Regions from separate parts of the Homo sapiens genome. Here regions 1, 3 and 4 are each linked to region 2. Evidence: promoter capture Hi-C in 16 types of primary human blood cells and fetal thymus (Javierre and others, 2016). All regions are on one chromosome and are shown on one strand. The core of a region is centred on a gene start or on the middle of the fragment in contact, and the rest is flanking DNA. Distances in the headings are between cores, read along the strand shown. Region 1 overlaps AVPR1B (arginine vasopressin receptor 1B). Region 2 holds the start of RAB29 (RAB29, member RAS oncogene family). Region 3 has its middle 26 kb from the start of AVPR1B-DT. Region 4 has its middle 7.5 kb from the start of RHEX.

Region 1 (5,515 bases), core at 2,365-4,864, 330 kb after region 2:
TTCAGTGATGTGTTTTGCTGAGTAATCCTCCTCTGTCCTCAGAACTTTAAATAGTGCATTTACAAAGCCCACCATCAATCAACCTTTGAATCTGCTGTTTCTTATAAGCCAAAGATGACAAATGGAATTTTGGTAAATATCAACCAGCATCATAATCTCTTATTCCAAGAAAAATCTCCCAAAGCTCAATCTAATAAAATTCAAGATTCATTCCTGGTGTTTTTAAAAAAACAATTAGGAATACAGGGACACTTCCTAACTCAATTAAGAATGATTTATCTCAAATCAGGAGATTACATGATATTTAACTGTAAGCTCCTAGACACAGTCCTATTAAGTCAGAAACAAAGTAAGAATGTCCACAAGCCTGCCATTTCCTTTGTTATCTAACATTGTTCTAGAAGTTCTAATCAGTTGATAAAACAGTTAACAAAAGCAAGAACTATGAAAAATTGGAGCCAGGCACGGTGGTGCACGCCTGTAGTCCCAGCACTTTGGGAGGCTGAAGCAGGTGGATCACTTGAGGTTAGGAGTTCAAGACCAAACTGGCCAACGCGGTGAAACCCCATCTCTACTAAAAATACAAAAATTTGCTGGGTGTGCTGGTTGGCACCTGTAATCCCAGCTACTTGGGAGGCTGAGGCAGGAGAATCACTTGAACCCGGGAGTTGGAAGCTGAGTGAGCCAAGATCATGGCACTGCACTCCAGCCCGGGTGACAGAGCAAGACTCTGTCTCAAAAAAAAAAAAAAAAAAAAAATAGAAATGAGGAAAAATTTGTCATCCTTTTCAGATATCCTAGCCCTAGAAAACCAGAGAATTAAAATGCTTTAAAATTGATAACATGAGTAACCAGTGACTAGAGAAATATTTTTCTCCAACAGCTAATTTGACATGAAGTAAAAAGAAATTTTGCTCATAATAGCTAAACAAACATGCCCCCAAAATTGAAACCCTAGGTTTACTCCTAGCCAAATTCAAACCCAAGATCAGTGGTATTCAGGTTTTAGACACCTGAGATTTATTAACTGTGCTCCATTTGCTGGCTGTGGATGACCCTCCCAGCCCTGGTGCTGAGAGCATCAGGCAGGCTTTCCTCCTCCTGAGTTCTTCTTCCCCAAGATGATCTAAGGGGATGATTCTGGTTTGGGTTTCTGGGGTTGGAAAATGTTGCTGGCTTGTTTGTCCCTTCACCTTTTAGCTACCACTGTCGTTCCTCTCCTTACAAAGCTTTTTTTAATGGGGTACAACAGAGTCTACTGATTAGACAGGCAGAATGAGGAATAAATACCAAAAATAATAACAGCAACATTGTCCCATCAAGAAGTGAAACTCTACTTCTTATTGATTTCTTCTATTTATTATTTATCTAATTATTTACTTTTAGAGACAGGGTCTCTGTCACTCAAACTGGAGTGCAGGAGTATGATCATGACTCAGTGTAACCTTCAAATTCCTGGGTTCAAGTGATCCTCCTGCCAAAGCCTCTCAAGTAGCTGGGACTATAGGTGCATGCCATGATGCCTAGTTAATTTTAAAAATTGTTTTGTAGAGAGGGTTTCACTATGTTGCCCAGGCTGCTCTTGAACTCCTGACCTCAACAGATCCTCCTACCTCAGCATCCCGAAGCACTGGGATTACAGGCATGAACCACTGCACCCGGCCTGATCTCTTAAAAAAAGGGGGAAAAAATGCCAGGCGCGGTGGCTCACGCCTATAATTCCAGTACTTTGGGAGGCCAAGGCGGTTGGATCATTTCAGGTCGGGAGTTCGAGACCAGCCTGGTCAACATGGTGAAACCCCGCCTCTACTAAAAATATAAAAATTAGCCTGTTGTGGTGGTGCACGCCTGTAATCCCAGCTACTCAGGAGACTGAGGCAGGAGAATGGCTTAAACCGGGAGGCAGAGGTTGCAGTGAGCCAAGACGTGCCATTGCACTCCAGCCTAGGTGACAGAGCAAGACTCCGTCTCAAAAAAAAAGAAAAGAAAAAAAAATTCAAGAGTGTACTGAAGAGATTCAGACAAGTTACATTGCACCCAAGAGACACCGCAGGGACAATGCTGAGACAGCTCCCACCAGGAGAGGGGATGAGAGTAAACAGACTGCCTGCTTTCCGCAGAATTCTGGGACAGGCCTTGGGTGTTGAGAGGAGAGATCAACAAAAAGAAGATTGGGTGGGGTCAAGGCATCTATGACCTAATTGTGGGGACAGGAAAGAGCCAGAGAGCATGTACAAAACAACATGTAAAAAACAATGAACACAGAGCAATGAAACCAGAGCCTATCAGTATTTACACAGATCCGGGGAATAGGATGTTAGAATCAGCCAGCCTTAATCAGAAAAAACATCCCAGAAAGAGGTGATTTCTGACCTCAGTTTAGAAAAAAAGGGCGGAGGCCGGGCGCGGTGGCTCACGCCTGTAATCCCAGCACTTTGGGAGGCCAAGGTGGGCGGATCACAAGGTCAGGAGATCAAGACCATCCAGGCTAACATGGTGAAACCCCGTCTCTACTAAAAATACAAAAAATTAGCCGGGCGTGGTGCCCGGCGCCTGTAGTCCCAGCTACTCGGGAGGCTGAGGCAGGAGAATGGTGTGGACCCGGGAGGCGGAGCTCGTAATGAGCCGAGATCGTGCCGCTGCACTCCAGCCTGGGGACAGAGCGAGACTCCGTCCCCCCCGCCAAAAAAGAAAAAAAGGGTGGAAAATCAACTGATGGGAGAAAAGGCAGGAGGAAAAGGAACAGACCTGACCTGCTGCAGGCTCTCAATAAATGCCTGAGGGGCGGCCCAGAGTGGCACTGTCTGGAGAACTGTCTGTGTCTGGGCTCAGAGGCTGCTGTGATACTCTGGCGCAGGGAGTTGACGTCAGGGAGACCAGAGACCAGAGGCTAGAATGATTGTAGACCATCTGATTAAGCTCTGTAATAAACTCTGCTTCAGAAATATGACATTCAGTAGTGAATATATCATGGAGGTTAACATTAGAACCCACCCTGATTGCTTATTAAGTGAAGGCATTCTTGGAGAGTGCTGTTAGATTTAACAGTTAGATTTAACAGTAGATTTAAACGTGTGACCCTACCAAGTGACTTACAGAGGTTAGAACTTCAATAGTGCACATGACTGCTCAGATGCCCTCATAAGTACAGAGGAAGGCTGATGTCACCTCCTGAGGAGTTTGAGCCAATAAGCTAATAATTGGGGCCAGCTAACAAATTGAACTAATCCTCAAAGTCATTGCAAGCCACGTAGAAACAAAATGGCCTTTTGTTTGTCATATTTCCATGAGCTTCAAGGGTGAGCTGTCTAAATCGGTACAAATAGTCACCTGTATGAGTAACCACCCTTTGAGGAGCATAGCTTCCAGTTCAGTGAAGTCACATTCTCCCACGTTATATGTCATTGGTACCTCCCAGAAACAATCATACTGTTTCACACTGGGTTTCTCCATGGACATGGACTGGACAAAGATTTTTCCAAAATTATCTGATAATAAGACACAGAAAAACTGATTTGCTATTGGCAACCAGTAGATGGTGGATTACATGCCAACAATGACCTAGGAATATAGACCACAGTAGACCATAATAAATGTGACCTGTTTTCAATGAATTCTTATTCTAAAGGAGCAAGCATCCAAATGCTCACCATGGGAACTGCAGCAAAATTCCACGAGCATCCTATTAGCCACCAAGACGTGCTAGGGTGAGGAGGTATTTTACGCTCAACATCAGTGGGTTTCTTTGCTTCTGGAATTGGGACAGATTGCTGGGCTCCGAGGCACTCTCAGAGAAGCCTCCTAACCCATGCCCCCAGATTCTAAACCAGAACCCGTAAAGTAACTATAGCTCATGTGGCTTTTTGAGGTCCTACTAGGGCCCTCAAACACTGACTCATGTGTCTTGCTGCCTTTTGGGCAGGAATTCCTATACTCATTTCCTCACCTTGCAGTAGAAACCTCTTGTTCTTTGCCTTGCCAAATCTCCGTGGGTTTAGAGAGAACCCAGTGTGTGTCCATGTATCTCAGGAGAACCGGGTCAAGTGAGGGACCAAGACTCTTTGGAACTTGAGGACTCACAAGCTAAGAGGCTGGGTGACTTTCCTAGCCTTCCCTGTTAGTCATTACTGCTTCATATCCTCCAGGAGAGTTAAAGAATGTGCACTGGATCTCAGCAATATTTGGCTAGAGAAAGGGCCTTACCCTGATTCTTAGGCAGGAGCTGCCAAGTCAAGCCCAGCGGAGGCCAGGCCCACTTTTGGCTCCACACTGCCACCTTGTGGTCCTATGGCAAACTCGAAGACACTGCTTTTCCCACTTAAACTGGATGCAGGGTGGCCCCTTTCCCCAGCAACCTCACCCCTTCACTCAAGACAAACACACTTTAATTTTATCTTGCACATCCAATTATCATTGTCCCTAGAAAACTAAAGATGCGCAGGAATTTCCTGGATATTAAATCTTTTTATTGGTGAATTTCAACCTGGGTTTCTGACCCAGGAATGAACTGCTACAGCCTGGGCTGAATCTATAGCCCTGTAGTAGATAAGTGATCTATTTACATACAAAACACAGACACATTATCTGGGAAAGTACTGGCCTGTGCCAAACAACATAACGATTCTGAGAAATCCCCGTAGTCAACCGATGAACCCCTCCTGTCCTCCTCTCTGTCCCGTCTGCCCCTCATGTCCTGCTTGTACATAGGTTTTAAGGGACTAAAGTACTGTCATTCACAGTCACAGGATGGCATAAACAATTTACACAAGTGCCCAGCCAGAGACGGCATTGTTCAGTTTCTCCTGGGGTTAGCCGTCAGAAATGGGATTCACCCCAGAGAGCACAGAGCCTCCTTCTTGCTTCCACAGGGCCCCTCCTCCTTGAACCCTATCCAAGGCCCTTCCACTGGCCCAGACTGTCCAGGCGAGCCTCCTACAGGTCCTGCAGAACTTTCACTCATAGATCCGATGAGATCCACCATTTCCTTCAGGAGCTTCCTGGAATGGGTTCCCGAGGCCCTCAGCCAGTGTGCAGTCGCTCCCCACTGTCCATATCACAGGACAGAACCAGCTTTCTGGAAAAGATCAAGTGTAGCCTTTCCATGGGAGGAACAATGAGGGCTCCAAAGCCACCACCCCAAGTAAATTATTCTTGTGCAATGCAAAACAGAAAATATCATAGTAGTAAGAGGGGATCTATAGAAGGCAAAGGGTAGACAAGAAAGTGCTTTAGTCAGCCTTGATCCCAGGTCTGTCTCCTCTTTTCCTCTCTGAACTGTAGACTCTTTTGGGTCAGGACCCTGGAGGTCATCTACCAGATGCAATCTGGAGCCAGGCCATTGTTCCCCTCTCTAACATCTGTTGAGTGCTCTATCTCTAGTCTACAATCTTACAAATCCCTCCCAACAAAGTGGGCATTGCTATTTCTATTTAATAAATGAAGAAAGCATTGCTGGGGGAGATTGGATAACTTGCTTAAGTTGATACAGGTAGAAAAGGGGTGAGATCAAGATGCA
Region 2 (5,360 bases), core at 1,216-3,715:
ACACACCCTGGGGAACTCTACATCCACCATAAGGTTGCAGGTATTATCTTGGGCAAGAATGGAATAAATGGAAAAGGTCCCAGAGGAGTCCCAAGAAGAAGACACTGTGTGGATGTTGCTGAAGAGTCCTGCTGGAATCTACCACCAAGTCTGCAGGTGCTGAGACTCCTTAAGGCTGAGTAAGTATTCCATGGGGAAAGCCTTTTGGCTAAGGAGAGAAACAGAGTAATTTCTGAGGTTTGGAAATATTATCTTTCACATCTGTGACAGGAATCAAAGCTAAGGGAAATTTAGACTAAACACTGAAAAAAAAATTAGCCAATTATATTCTTTGCTAAAGGAAAACTACAGCAATTGTTAAAAATTAACTATTAATAGCAGGCCACTTTTAACCCAAATCCGTGAAATAGGGACCCTTATATTATTTAGGAGTGGGAGGGCAGAGCGGTCAGGATAGAGTGTCTGAAACTTTGAACCTTTAATTTTGCCAGACTTAAATTTTTTGTTCCTTTGTTTTTGAGACAGGGTCTCACTCTGTTGCCCAGGCTACAGTGCAGTGAGTGGTGCGAACGGGGCTCACTGAAGCCTCGACCTCCCCAGTTCAAGCAATCCTCTCGTCTCAGTTTCCCGAGTAGCTGGGACCACGGCTACTTTCTTCTTTAATTTTTGTAGAGGTGGGGGTCTTGCCATGTTTCCCATGGCTGGTCTCGAACTCCTGGGCTCAAGCAATCCTCCCGCCTCAGCCTCCTAAAGTGCTGGGATTGCAAGTATGAACCACGGTACTGGGCCCTACTGGGGGTTCTTAAGGAGAATGTTTTAATTGCAATGTAAATGTTTGTTAATTTCTTTTTAAACTTCCATATGAACAGGAGCACACATTTTCAATTTTTCCATTGGTACGAGTTTTCCCCCCTTGAAACAAGTTCTTTTAACAGAGAGAAATAAAATTTTAAGTTACTCTCCCCCATCACCAGCTCTTCCTAGCTAAATACCTTCTAATTAACAATAAGGCATTTCTGCCTCTGAAAAAATAGTTGAGTCCAAAGGCCACACCCGGGAAAGAAATGAATGAACTCGGTGTCCCCTTCCTCCCTACCTTCTCCAGTTTGAGGAAAAAAGTGGTGGGAAGATAGGTCAGAGAAGTGGTATATTTCACATTCTTGGAAGAATTCCTTGGTTACCTTTATTTAAGCAATCAACGGACAAAAACACAGCTCATCAGCCCTCATGGGCATCTGACTGCGTAGCCAAGGGGCTCGTTCGGGGATTTTGTGTCTTCCATCCCACCCACAGCCCCACAACAAAGCTACAGTCCTTCAGACCAGTTCCGCTTCCTGCGTTCTCCCACTGAAGCCAGGTTAAACACCTTGCGGTTCCTCCCTCAACAGAGGGGCAGGACTACAGCCCCAGCCGGCACCTAACCAGGAGGCCCCACAGAGGATCTCAGCTGCTTCTGCTGATTGGAGAGATTTGCCGGACAGCTGAAAGGCTGGAGACTTAAGTTCACAGTACGCCTGCAATAAACAGCAATTGCTCATCCTCATCCTCCCTTCCCTATTTCTCATCTTCACGCCTTTGCTCTTACCTTTCTCCTGGCAGTGGGCTCAGTTTGGGAAAATCTAACGGGAAACTCAAGAGAGGCGTGTAAACCAAACACCCGGCAATTACACCATCTAGGTTCCCAGACAGTACTTCCTGACCCGAAGAAGGACCCAACAACCGACAGCAAATCCCCACCCCACTTGGGTCCCCAGCTCGAGTCCGCGGTCGGGGCCTCCTCCTCCCCCTCCCCCTCCCCACCCCCGAGACGTCTCACCTCCCACCGTGGACTTGTAGTGTTTGCTGAAGCTGTCCTGGGAATATCGCTGCACCAGCGACGTCTTGCCCACTGCGGCGTCCCCCACCACCAGCACTTTGAACAGGTGGTCGCGGCTGCCCATGGCTAGCGGGGTGTGCGTTTTAGGGAGGCGGGAAGTGTGGTCGGGGATCGGGGGTCGCTCGTTTTAACCCCTTTGGATCCGGACCCTCTTCAAACTGAAGTGAGGCATTCCCACCCACCGCCTGTCTGGGCTGCTCTGACGAGAAAGCAAAAAAGGAAACTTTGCACTCAACCTATACGCGCTTCCTCCCCGGGCGGCCGCAACCTGGGTGGGGCGCAGGGCGCGAGCTCCGAGCCCCCGGCTGTTCGCACCTTCCCCACCCCCTCCTGGCCTGACTGCCGAGAAACTGGACCAGGCGCCGCGGAACCTCACCCACCGGGACTTCCCCCGAGCGGCTCCAAGTCAGTGACTGAATCCCAGTCAGCTCCTTACACCACTGGGGCCAGATGATGGGGACCCTCCCCTTGCAGCACAAACCAAATTGTGAGGAAGGAGCAGCCGGCACCTCGATTCCCTAGACGCCCTCCCGCGCGCCTCTCTCTCCCCTTCCTCCGCAAGCGTCACGTGCAGGGTTGCCTGTGGCACTACATTTCCCAGCTTTCCTCGCGGTAAAGAGAACCAGCCGAGTGCGGAGGCTCACCGCGAAGCCTCCTGGGAAATGTAGTATATTCGTTATTTTGTTTTAAGCAAACCTACACCAAGTTTCAAGGCTTCAAACTCCCTCGACAGTTTGGAATCTTATTTTGAAACAATTCTAGGTCAGTAAAGATCCCTTAAGGGGAGATTTGTGCAACGTGATCTCACTGGCCTGAATCCATCCCCAGATAGTTTTCTCCTGTCTTTAAAGGTTTAACTGAGTTAAGATTGAAACTTATTTCATTAGTAAAAGCCCAAGCCTCATCCATCATGCTCCAAGTGAAGTCCATTTCCTATTCCTTCAAGTAGATAGACAAGCCCAGGACTTTGTGAAATGACTCATATTTTCTGTGTGAACTTGCCCAATACCAGGCAAGTTCAGGAAAACTTGACCCAAGAGACCAGTCTTTGGAAAAAAACCTATGCCAAAAATTACAGCATTTAATATCCAGCAATAACAATAAAGATGGACAGAAAACAAGAGACAGTTCTCCATTCATACTTCTACAATGCCTATTCTAGCCATACTACTCATGTATCACTTGAGCTAGAAGCTAATTGAAATACACTGGGACTCCTTCTTGATTTGTTGTGGCTGTTGTTAATAGATAATCATAAAACTAGTGTTTGGCAAATAATTTTAATTTCTCAGCCTGTAACTTTACTGACCTACCTGTCACTTGGGTAGAAGTTGGCAGGACATGAGCTCAATGGCAAGCAAAGAGAGCTCCATTTTCTATACTTTTCTAGGAATAGAGGAAGAGAACCAGCGGGGCCATGGGAAAACAGCCCAGGACCAGACACTAGGAAATCTAGGTCTCTTGATAGAGAGGCTATCACTTATGTTTTGTGGCGAAAGAACATCAGCATGGTTCACAATATATTTTGCCCAGAATGTTCGTTACCCAGGTACAGGAGGTTAGTTCAAGCTACTCATCTTTAAGGATCCAGTTTTCTCTGTTCTTATTCGTTTTGACATAGTTGACCACTCCTTGACATTTGTTTCCCTTATGCCTTCTATGACGCTGTTCTTTCTTTGTCATCCCCGTACTTCTCTGATGATTATCTTTTTCTTTCAGGTTTCTCTCCATCCCATTTCCCGCTAAGTATTTCCTAAGGCCTGATTCTTGGTCTCTGAGTCAATCATTCGATAAACTCTTTAGTGAATTGTCCTTGGTGTCAAAGATCTATCTTCACTTTATTTGTTCTTTATCTCTGATCAGTGATATTCTGTCAAGACCAGCTCTGTTGGGGAGACCCTAACCCAGTGGCGCTAGAGGAATTAAAGACACACACACAGAAATATAGAGGTGTGAAGTGGGAAATCAGGGGTCTGATTTCCTTTAGAGCTTTTAGAGCTGAGAGCCCCGAACAGAGATTTACCCACGTATTTATTAACAGCAAACCAGTCATTAGCATTGTTTCTATAGATATTAAATTAACTAAAAGTATCCCTTATGGGAAACGAAGGGATGGGCCGAATTAAAGGAATAGGTTGGGCTAGTTAACTGCAGCAGGAGCATGTCCTTAAGGCACAGATCACTCATGCTATTGTTTGTGGCTTAAGAATGCCTTTAAGCGGTTTTCCACCCTGGGCGGGCCAGGTGTTCCTTGCCCTCGTTCCTGTAAACTTACAACCTTCCAGCGTGGACGTTAGGGCCATTATGAACATGTTACAGTGCTGCAGAGATTTTGTTTATGGCCAGTTTTGGGGCCAGTTTATGGCCAGATTTTGGGGGGCCTGCTCTCAACATGTCCCTCTTCTCTGATTTGCAAATTGATAAATGCAAAGGCAGCTTTGTCACGGTGAGCTACTTCTCGCAGGAGTCAGGATACACATCTGCAGACTATACAAAGACAAACAACACAGATTAAAAGCACAATCATCATTGAAATCACAGAGCTTCCAAGTGTTTTTATCCATTTTCGGCTCCTTTAAGCACTCCAGTTCCTGGCATTAAGGTCAAGTGTGCCTCGGATGCTTTAAATATTTCTTCTTTTAATTTTAAATCCTTATGTTAAGCTCCTAGAGCGGGCCATATCATTTGAGGTTGAGGTGTCACTATACTGCCATGGTTCCAGATAATAGGAACTCTTGCTGTACTTCTTATTATATCTACCATCTGACCATTTTGTTCAGACCAGCTGAACATAGTGTGGCCGTGGCACGCAGACTGAGAGGTGCAATTCAAGCTAAACATCCCCTTAGGGGACCAATTAATAATGATTCCATAGGAATCATTGTGCAGCATCTCTGCCTGTTCTGCAATGCAATCTTCCTAAACAAGTACGTTCATTTTTTCTAACTGGGTCCAATCCTGTTTACAAATAAGTTTTTGAGGGCGGTATGCCTCAATTATAGGAGCAGATTTATTATGGTAAATACTGAGATCAGAAAGCATGTGTAACTGCGTCATAAAGTGATTGCATCCAGGCATTATTGCCAGCCAAGATTGATAAATATACCCAATAAGTATAATTGTTCTCTGTGTCAGCCCTTAATGAAGGAATACTCACGGCACTGGTGATAACCGCTATCATAGCTACCATTAACACTTTATTTGTTCTTTATCTCTGATCAGTGATATTCAGCTGCCCAAAAGGTGCCCCCACTTGGATGTCCTGCCACATCCTTCCTCTTACTACATTGCCATAAAAATAGCTCCTTTTCTCAGCTTCCCTATTTCTGTCACTGGTCTCATCATTTCTTGCCTCCATGTAGACTTCAGATTCTGAGCATTATTATTTCCTTTACACATGTCCCTTTATACCTATTTATTTGTTTGTTTGTTTATTGAGATGGAGTCTCACTCTGTTGTCCAGGCTGGAGTGCATTGGCATGAT
Region 3 (5,099 bases), core at 2,567-5,066, 370 kb after region 2:
CAGTCTTCACAGGGAGATGAGGAAACAAACAGAAAAGCAGAAGAAGGGCAGAGCAATGCGGCAGAGGGAAGGAAAGGAATGTCTGAACATCAAGAGGAATTCAGCTGGGGGCATCTAGAGAGGAGATCCGCCACTGGACATTCAAATTCCAGGGAAAGATCATCTTCCCACTCCATCCCCCTTCTAACTCCGCATCCATCCTACTGAGAGCCACCTCCACCACTCAATAAAACCCCTGCATTCATCCTTCAAATCTGTGTGTGACCTGATTCTTCCTGGACACCGGACAAAGACCTGGGTACCAAGAGTGTCTACTGAGCTGTCTAACACTTAAGCCATCCCTGGACAGCAAGGCTAAAAGAGAGCACTGTAACACACGCCCACTTGGGCTTTGGGAGTTGCAGACACCCACCCATAGACACAACCATGGGGCTGGAGCCCAAAAAGCGCTCACCCTGACTCCTGCACCTGACTGTCTGCATGCTCCCCTTCCTGTAAGGGGTTTGAGCACCCAGCGGCTGAACATATGAGCCACCCCCAATCACACATCCTGCGAGGGGGGGTCAGGGAACTCTTCCATTTCATCTGTTTAAGTGGTCTTGGCTGAGAGACTGGTTTTCTGGGGGGCAGAGAATTAGGCAGGTCATCATTTTCTCCCTCAGTCATAAATCACCTCCAAATAATCCTGGCTGTCACCATCAGAAAGCTTAAACTCACCTTGAATCCAACCTTTGAGTTAAAAGGAACTTGGAATTCTTTCTTTGACTCCCTTGGGCATTTAGGTTTTAAATTCATTTGTAAACATTGGTTTGGAAAGAAATCTAGGTAGATCCAGGTTTGCAATTTTAATCCGAAGCCACATTTCTGGGCTTTCCTGTAGCATACCCACCTAACTGGAAAATCTAAAAGTAAATACATTTTGAAGAGAGAGAGAGAGAAAAAAAAAAAATAAGTTCCTGCTGCTCTCAGATGAGGCCTTTGCAACCTGTGAATGATGTTATCATTTTTTTGCCTGTACAAAAAATAGACAGCTTTATTTTCACTTTCTTCTAAGTCATTTATGCGACTACAAAGGTGGTAGTGGGAGTCTCTGAGAATTGTTTTATAACACTGTGGTGCCCTCCTTTGAAAAACAAAACCAAATTATCCATGTATAGCACTAAGTGAGGTGGACCTGAGCAAGGCATAGCAATGTTTGCTTTCTGCAGACATCTGAAGTGGGAGCCATGGTGACCAGGCATACCTGATGGCCACACAGCTATCCCCCAGCACTCAGAGGAGCCATCACAGGGATATTAGATCACATTAACATTTTAAAACCTACTAATGCACTTATCACACTTACTCAACTTGTCCGGTGGATCTGGTATTTCGATCAAAAGAGTTCTAAATAGTAGGGGGACCAACTGTCTTGGTTGCTGGGGAATGAGGGATTTCCTGGGATGTGAAACTTTCAGTAAAACAGGGACAGTCCCCCACAAACTGGGACAGTGGTCATCCTGCTAAAGAGTGTCCCATTTTCCTATTGCTGATGCCAACAAAAAATGACAAGGCGAAGAGTAGAGACAGCACGACCCCTTCTTTAAAGCAGTGATTATCGAACTTTAGCCTGCCTCAGAATCCCTTGGAGGGCGCAGGAAAGTGGCTTGACTAGAATTTCTGACTCAGTAGATCTGGGTAGGACCAAAGAATGTGCATTTCTAATGAGTCCCCACATGAGGCTGATACTGCTCGTCCAGGACTACATGTAAGAACCACTGCTCTAAACACTGGGTTCTTAGCTGCACATTGGAATCACCTGAAGACTTTTTAAAAAATGGGTGCTTTGATCTCACCCCTTAGAGGTTTTGATTTAATAGCTATGGAGGTATTTTTCAACCTTTCCAGGTAATTCTAATGTGCAACAAAGTCTGAGACCACTGCCCTAAAAGGCACTGAATTCAGGAAATGACTCGATTGACATTTGTTTCCTGACATTTGTTCATTTGACATTCAACATGTACTTGTTGAGCAACTACTATGTGCCATGCACTATGACAGAGGCTGTCTGGTTAGACTATATATGATCCCTTCCTCAAGGAGCTTACTGTTTCAGGGAAAACACAAGAAAAACAAGTCAACGAAAAATAATATACAATTAAAAATTGAGATAAGAGCCCTGGAAAAAAAAAGAGCAGGGACCTAGGGATCTAGGGGAATAAGGGTATGGGGAGAACTATTCTGGACAGAGATGTCATTGAGGATGTCTCCAAGATGACATTTAAGCCAAAACCAGAAAAATGAAGGCCAGCCATCCTGCGTATGGAGAGAAAAGCACTCCAAGGAAGAGAAAAAGTTCTCAGAACTGTCGGTCGGGAGGGGAGTGCTCCTGGAGGCAGAGAGCTGGGCAGGGCGACCTGAGACAAGGTCATGGGTGGGGTGGACAGGGCCACATCCCTCCTAGACCATGGGAACCAGCTGAAGTCATATTCTAAGTGCACTGGCAAGCACTGAGGGAGAACATTTCTGTTTTCATTTTATATTTGAAAGTATATACATTTTTAAGGCTGCCATGTGGAAAAGAGATTGGAAGCCTCTGAACCCAGGTTCTTCACCAAAGACAGATGAGAGCGAGGGATTCAGATGGTGACGAGTCATGAGAATGTCTCCCAAGGGTTGCTGAGAAGGGCTGCATGGGGTACACCGTGTGCGGCTGTAGCTTTCGGGAGAAGAACTGTGAGTGCCAGTCACATACGGTGGCTGAGTGCACGTCTCTTGTGCACTGCGTGGGCGAACTCACCAGATATTAAGTTACAGGCATCAGTTTAGCACCTCCACCTCTTTTCAGTGTGGACTTGGGCTGCAGGCTGTTCTAATGAGGGGCTGGCTTTACAGTTCCCTGTTAGATGAACTGGAGGTTCCAAGGCTGTCAGCCAAGCAGGGAAGTCCAACTCCAGGTCCTGCAGCCCAGGGATTCGGGACTCCCAGGTGCACGGCCATCTGCAGTCGCCCTTTGCATTGTGGGGGATTTTTAATCTGTTGGCCAGATGGAGGGTCGGAATAAATGGTTCTGGCAGTAACCAGACACCTGAGGTGGGAGGACAGCATGGAGGACGGTCTGTGGAAAAGCCTGTCCTGAGTAAGCAGGTGCAAACTCCCTCAGGACAAGAGAAGGGAGCTGTCTTGCAACACATACACGAACTCTTTGTCACTGTGAAATCCTTGCAGAATGCATTTGAGCTGAAACAAAATCCTCCTAAAGAGTACATTAATAGTCCTCATGAGGCCTTTCACAGCTAAGAACCTCCACCTGGTCCTAAACTGCATGCAGGGGAAGGAAAGAAGGGCAGGCCTTGCTTCAGAGTTTTACAGCCAGGGAAACAGAAATGGGGAGGAAGTGCAGGGCTGCCAGGGAAACGGAGACTTGGAGGAGGGCTAGTACTGCCTTAGGCTTAGAGGATGAGGACATCAGAGCAGATGCCTAGGCCCCTGTTCTCAATGCTATCCTAGGACCCATACATTGCCTCCCTTGGGGATAGGAAGGATTTTGTGCCAGAGGATGCAGCTCAAGAAACCTTATCTCGGGGTGGAAGTGGGGCAGGATTGCATCCCATGCAATAACAGGGCTAAGGCAGAAGAGAACCTGAAGCCTGCACTGAGCACCTCTGAGATGAAATCGCTGTGCACTGGGTTTAAATAGGGATGACACCAGGATCGTCCCTATTTAAGCAACATTCAGGGGAGATGAGTGAAGATGGGCCTGAAAAATGAGTCCAATAATGTTCTCAACAATAAATATTTACTAAGGGCAACCCATGTGCTAAGTACTGGGCTAGATGCCAGGAACAAGAGAGATCCTGACCTAGGTGAGGGAAAGAGACAGGGTAGCTACTTGGGCACAAAGGTTATATTTTATTTATCTCTGTATTATTCATGCCTGGCACTCAGCATATGGTTATTGAAAGCAATGACTTAATGACTTAATAAATTAACTGAAGCAGGTCTGGCTATCAGTGGGCACTCCATGTCTATTTCTAAACAAATGAATGTGTTGCTTCTACAAAGGACTCTGTGTACAAGATCTCTGGGAAGAAAGGTGGCAGATAACATAGGCGAGATGATGGAGGTTTGGAAAGAAAAGAATGTGGCAAGGATCAAGGCAAATAGTATGAGGAAAAAGAAAGAAATGTTGAAACTAGGGGCAGAGAAAAGCTAGAGAGGAAAAGAAATGTAATCATGGCATAGTGCATACTTATTCTGGGGTCAACAGTAGTTCAGGGTCATAAAAGCCTAGACATTATATTAGGAAGATGGAAGAGAAGAGCTGAGAAGCGTCAGTGTGTGAAAGAGTTACCTACCATTGCGGAAAATAAATAGATAATGTCCAAAATTGGTAAGTGAAGAAAAAGCACTAGAAGTTTATGTTTCGGGCATATGAAGGACAAAGAGTTAAAACGCGGTGGCTCTTGCCTGTAAACCCAGCAGTTTGGGAGGCCGAGGCGGACAGATCACGAGGTCAGGAGATCGAGAGCATCCTGGCTAACACGGTGAAACCCCGTCACTACTAAAAACACAAAAAATTAGCTGGGTGTGGTGGCGGGCGCCTGTAGTCTCGCTACTCGGGAGGCTGAGGCAGGAGAATGGCATGAACCCGGGAGGCAGAGCTTGCAGTTAGCCAAGATCGTGCCACCGCACTCTAGCCTGGGAGACAGAGAGACTCCATCTGGGGGCAGGGTGCAGGGAGCGGGGCGGAGGGGGGAGTGGTTACCCTCAGGCAAAAGGACAGGAGATGCCCTAAAAACTCCCCCGACTCTTTGGTTAGTCTGATTCCCTCCCCTGGCCCTAACAGCCTCCCCTGCTTAGATCCAAGTGGCAATAGGACCTGAGTCCCTTAGGCAGCCAACCCCACCCAAGCAGAAAGAAGAGACCAGGACATGAGCTGTAAAATGGAAAACAAGAACAGGCTTTTGAATAGAGAGGGATCGTGAGGCACCCCAGGCAGCTGTGAGGCTAACTTCCAAAGTCAGGATCTTTTAAAATGGTATTTGATTTTCTGGGTTGAATGGGACACTTCAACCAAATATAAAAATCTCTTCCTTGGGCAACAGCTGAAATAATGA
Region 4 (5,378 bases), core at 2,259-4,758, 270 kb after region 2:
CTCTCCGCCTCCCAAGTAGCTGGGACTACAGGCATGTACCAACATGCTGGCTAAATTTTGTATAGATACAGTGTTTCACCATGTTACCTAGGCTGGTTTTGAACTTCTGAGCTCAAGCGATCCTCCTGCCTCCCAAAGTGTTGGGATTACAGGTGTGAGCCCAGCCATATCAACTAGATTTTAGAAAGCGACTTCAGGATTTTAGTTCCTCTTACACTAATGCTTCATCAGTATCACTCTTCCTCCTATGTTTCTCAATTTCAATTGTATATTTTTAATGGTTGCAGAAGCTCATATTTGTCATAATTTTTCAATTTATGCATGTCATCTAGAATACTGAAAAGACCTTGAGATATTCTTTATTATAAGCCTCTCTTTTAAAGAGATATTATTGCTTCCAATATAGAAAAAAACTAATTTTGCTATTGACCTTCAGATTGTAGAGGATTACAGGTGTGAGCCACCTCACCCAGACAGGAATTTTTAATATTTTATTCACTATTGGCTTTAAAGAATAGGCAACCTGGCCGGCCGTGGTGGCTCACGCCTGTAATCCTGGCACTTTGGGAGGCTGACGTGGGTGGATTACCTGAGGTCAGGGGTTCGAGACCAGCCTGCCCAACATGGTGAACCGCCATTCTCTACTAAAAATACAGAAGATTAGCCAGGTGCAGTGGCGTGTGCCTGTAATCCCAGCTACTTGGGAGGCTGAGGCAAGAGAATCACTTGAACCTGGGAGGCGGAGATTGCGGTGAGCCGAGATCAGGCCACTGCACTCCAGCCTGGGCGACAGAGCAAGGCAGCCTTAGAATCTTTTGGGGACCTATGCTGAAATCCATTAAGTTTGTCATAAATTTTTTTCATCTTTGTTGTATCTGCTCCCTCAAATCATTATAGCCTATATTCAGTGCTTCTGTTGGTGATGGTTGTGGTCAACCAAAAACCTAAATAATCCTTCTCCAGCTGTATCATTTACTGTAGGGAAAAAAATTAATGTTTACATATAGATATATTTGCATTTTGAAAATGTACAAATCTAAAAATAATTGTCAACTGTTCCACGTGGCTTACATCAGGAAATGTACCTCAAGTTATTTAACTGTGTGATATTTAGCACTTCTTACAAGATTCAAAATAACTTCAGTCAACAAATCTGCTATATTTTAATCATTTGGTTTTGCTTTTCATCTGCTACATAATGTGTAAATGCTATTTGGTGTTTATATATAGTATATAATATTTATATATAGTATATAATATTTGGTATATATTTGGTGTTTATATATAGTATATAATATTTGTACAATAATATACAAGTATATGTTTATATAAACAAATATATATTGTATATATACAAATTATTGCATATTTGAAACATACAATATATATTTGTATACTGCTGTAAATTCTATTAAGCTTCTATGCTTTTCGTAAATGAAGAAAATTCCTGTTATTATACTGCTTATACATTTTTGTAGATGATCCTCTGAATGCTAGATATTGTCTTGCCAAAACAGAATTGAGTTTTTTTGTTCAATGTAATATTTTCCTCATCATATAGAATCTGTTTTGCAGCATTAATAATTATATATTTCTAATCAGATTTGAAATTTGAATACTTAGCATTCCTATTGATGTTTATTTCAGATTCTTCATGTTTACAAAAAAATGTGCCAAGTGCTGTACAATCTTTGCATTCTTTCCCATTTTCCAGCTGATTTTTTGTTCTCAAAGAGCTGGCAAAATACAGAGTCCTTGGAAGTATAATAAAATAATCAGAATCTAGTCATTATTATTTCTCCTCACCATTTGGAAAAAATTTGTGTCCATTATATTTCCAAAAACTTCCAACCTGTATTATCTTTTGTAAAGATAAAAAATTTTTTACTTGAGGTGAATAATTTTCAGCAAGAGTACATCTTTGTTTCCTATTCAAACTACTTGGCCATGTGTTTGAATTCTTTGCATTTTTAAAGCTACTTTTTTTTAGATTCATCGATTATTTCTGACAATGGAACTAAAAGGTAAATTCACATCTCACATTTCTGTGACACATTCACTGAAACAAACAGCCCTAAACTCTCTATTTCTCCCTAAATTTATTCAATAATCCAAATAGTTTTACTTTACTTTCTATCTAGACAGCTTTTCATCTTCTAGTTTTAGTTTGATTTTTTTTTCTTATCAGTATCCTGGGAGAAATAATATTATATTAGCTTATTAAATGTTAAAGAAATATTATTAAGGCCGGGCATGATGACTCATGCCTGTAATCCCAGCACTTTGGGAGGCTGAGGCGGGTGGATCACGAGGCCAGGAGTTCAAGACCAGCCTGACCAACATGGTGAAACCCCATCTCTACTAAAAATACAAAAATTAGCCAGGCGTGGTGGCACATGCTTGTAATCCCAGCTACTCAGGAGGCTGAGGCAGGAGAATAGCTGGAACCCGGGAGGCGGAGGCTGCAGTGAGCTGAGACCATGCCACTGTACTCCAGCCTGGGCATCAGAGCGACACTCTGTCTCAAAAAAAAATATATATATATATATATGTGTATATATCTATATACATAATTAAAACATAATAGTAGTTTATCCTAGAACTTAAAACTTTAAAAAATATATATAATAAGCCATGAAACTTTACCAGCAGTTAGCTTTTCTCCTGAAGAAATTTTCTTTAACAACCCATAAACAATAGCTATGATACAATTCACAATTCATGATATAATAGTCTCTAATTTATGAATATAAAATAATTATTTTATGAATATATAATTGCCTATGATCATTAATTACCACAAAAGTGAGTTATGTAATAATAAAAATCCGTAGATCTAAATTAGGAATTCAGAGCTACCATTCAGGCAGACAATATGAACTGTAATGCAAAACTTCAAATTTAGCCAATACACAAATACTAATACAGGATTTAAAAAAAAATTAGATAAAAATCAAAACAAGAGTTGGAAAACAACTCCTTGTTTGGAAGCACTAGTTATTGTGGCACTCGTTACTTAAACCAATAAGGTCTTTGTCAAACACTCTCTGCTTCAGCTTATGAAGTAAATGTCAACCCTGTTAGAAAATCTATTTCCATCTGAAAGAAAATTGTCATAAAAAAGGATCTTTGTTAGAGAAGACATTTTATTGTTATTTGTCAGAAAACTATTTTAATAAGAATATGTCATCTACCTTTAGAGTTAGCAGTTAAATAAAAAAGTGAAAAAAATTCAACATAATGATGTCTGTGATGTGCATAGTTTCTGTCTTTCTTTTTTTTTTTTTTTGAGACGGAGTTTCACTCTTGTTGCCCAGGCTGGGGTCCAATGGTGCGATCTTGGCTCGCTGCAACCTTCACCTCCCGGGTTCAAGCGATTCTCCTGCCTCAGCCTCCTGAGTAGCTGGGATTACAGGCATGCCCCACCACGCCTGGCTAATTTTTTATATTTTTAGTAGAGACAGGGTTTCTCCATGTTGGTCAGGCTAGTCTTGAATTCCCAACCTCAGATTATCTGCCCACCTTGGCCTCCCAAAGTGCTGGGATTACAGGTTGGATAGTTTCTTTAGATGTCATGCCCTTGAGCAATAAACAACCTGAACAACTGTCCTTAGCTACTCCAAAATTTATGTGGTTATTACAGCTAATAAAGATGATATAGAAACAATCTGTGTAGTAAATGAAAGGTAGTTTAAGGGATTTTGAGACCTCTGTTTGGATGCTGGTTTTGTTGTTTGCTAACTGTGACCTGGAGCAATTCACTTATCACTCAGTTACCTCAGCTACAAATGGGGATAAGTATGCCTCATCCTTTAAACTGCTGACCGGAGGTCACACGAGATATCCCCAGTTCTGAGTCGTCAACGAAATCGTAAGATGTGCATAAGGTTTCCATTTTGCACTTGTTAAAAATGTGCTTGCGGCCAGGTGCGGTGGCTCATGCTTGTAATCCCAGCACTTTGAGAGGCCGAGGCCGGTGGATCACTTGAGGTCAGGAATTTGAGACCAGCCTGGCCAACATGGTAAAACCCCGTCTCTACTAAAAATACAAAAATTAGCTGGACATTGTGGTGGGTGCCTGTAATCCCAGCTACTCGAGAGGCTGAGGCAGGAGAATCACTTGAACCCGAGAGGCAGAAGTTGCAGTGAGCCGAGATCACGCCACTGCACTCCAGCCTGGGCGACAGAGTGAGACTCTTGTCTAAATAAACAAATAAGTAAGTAAAATGTGCTTGCTTAAAAAAAATTTTTATTATGTTTTTAAATTGAATGAAGGATATGTGCAGAGCCAGTAAAGGATGGTAATATGGGATCAGTTCCTGTTAAGTCACCTGTGGACAGTTCTGGCTTCACATGTTCACTGGTGCTCTTTTGTAGGAGCCCAAGAGGCTGACAGTTTAATTTTCTTAGGATGCCAAATGTTAAGACACCTGTTTGACGTTTGCAAATAAGCTGCTGTGCAAAATGAAAACCTGATGGTGATCTTTAAAGCAACCCCAACCAATAAATACCTCTGTAATAAACCTCAAGAGGACGCAGGGTTTCTATTTGGAGAAATGAAATTCTGCAAAAGCAACCAGAAAAACATTTAAAGTCCTAGAAATGGTGAGAGTATATGGCTCCACTCGGTTACGGCAGCACATCTGTGGCCAGCCTGAAAAAGAGCAAAGGGAGTGTGTCCAACTTCTCATTCATTCAATGAGCATTTATTGAGGGCTGCTGTGTTCCAGGCACTGGCCTAGAAGCCGGGGAGATAAGTGAAATCAGACATGATCTCAGTCCACTGGGCTCTTGAAGTTCATGAACTGTCTTTCGTGCCCTCTGTCTTCCCAGGTTCTGTTCCTCCCTCCTTCTGCATCCTAGGTGACAGCCTTCCTTTCACCCTCAGGTGTACAATGCTCCCTCTCTTAGCAGTGATTTCAGATGTTCATCGAAGGAAAAATGGCTGGATATTCCAACTGCCATGCCTTCACTACAAGCACCCTCCCATCTGGTATATCCACAGCCTCAGCACTGCCATAGGAATCCTTCCTACACATCCGTGACCACAACAAATGCCACCTCCTCCATGTAGTCTTCCCTCGTCACTAAAGTTAGAAACAACCTGCTCCTCCTTTCTGATCCAATAGCCCTTTCTTTGTACATCTTTTTAGCTTTGATTATACACCTACCTTTTGTTACAGCTGCTATGGTTGCCGCGGATATTTTCCTCGCTAAATTGGGGTGGGGGGTGAGCGTGGGGTAGCACTCTCTGAACCCAGGGCCCGTGTCTCATTCTTCTCTATCCTTGTAAGCTGTCTCACGCTGCTAAGGACATACCATATGCTACAGAGAAGTTTGACTGGATTGGATTTTTTTTTCTTTGATTTTAGCTACCC

The links. The method cuts DNA at HindIII sites, captures the fragments that hold promoters and counts their contacts. A CHiCAGO score of 5 or more calls a contact.
Region 1: a fragment that was not itself captured here is called in contact with the fragment with the promoter of RAB29 in region 2 in 3 of 17 cell types (endothelial precursors, erythroblasts and M0 macrophages); the score reaches 7.6 in endothelial precursors.
Region 3: a contact is called between a fragment that was not itself captured here and the fragment with the promoter of RAB29 in region 2, in 1 of 17 cell types (M1 macrophages). The highest score is 5.0, in M1 macrophages.
Region 4: a contact is called between a fragment that was not itself captured here and the fragment with the promoter of RAB29 in region 2, in 2 of 17 cell types (erythroblasts and naive B cells). The highest score is 5.9, in erythroblasts.

The regions. Positions count from the first base shown.
Region 1 is chr1:206,102,492-206,108,006 of GRCh38, forward strand. It overlaps AVPR1B (arginine vasopressin receptor 1B), which reads right to left. Exons shown (of 2, transcript NM_000707.5): 2 at 4,445-5,515. Among named protein-coding and RNA genes, the nearest start is that of AVPR1B, 12 kb to the right of the region's middle. The HindIII fragment of the contact is 4,766 bases long and covers 1,232-5,515 here.
Region 2 is chr1:205,773,017-205,778,376 of GRCh38, forward strand. It overlaps RAB29 (RAB29, member RAS oncogene family), which reads right to left and starts at 2,466. Exons shown (of 6, transcript NM_003929.3): 1 at 2,257-2,466; 2 at 1,817-2,070. The coding sequence starts at 1,940. RefSeq lists an enhancer at 1,331-1,380. The HindIII fragment of the contact is 8,570 bases long and covers 1-5,360 here.
Region 3 is chr1:206,140,968-206,146,066 of GRCh38, forward strand. No RefSeq gene overlaps it. Among named protein-coding and RNA genes, the nearest start is that of AVPR1B-DT, 26 kb to the left of the region's middle. The HindIII fragment of the contact is 6,217 bases long and covers 709-5,099 here.
Region 4 is chr1:206,042,965-206,048,342 of GRCh38, forward strand. No RefSeq gene overlaps it. Among named protein-coding and RNA genes, the nearest start is that of RHEX, 7.5 kb to the right of the region's middle. RefSeq lists an enhancer at 4,619-4,788. The HindIII fragment of the contact is 4,180 bases long and covers 1,419-5,378 here.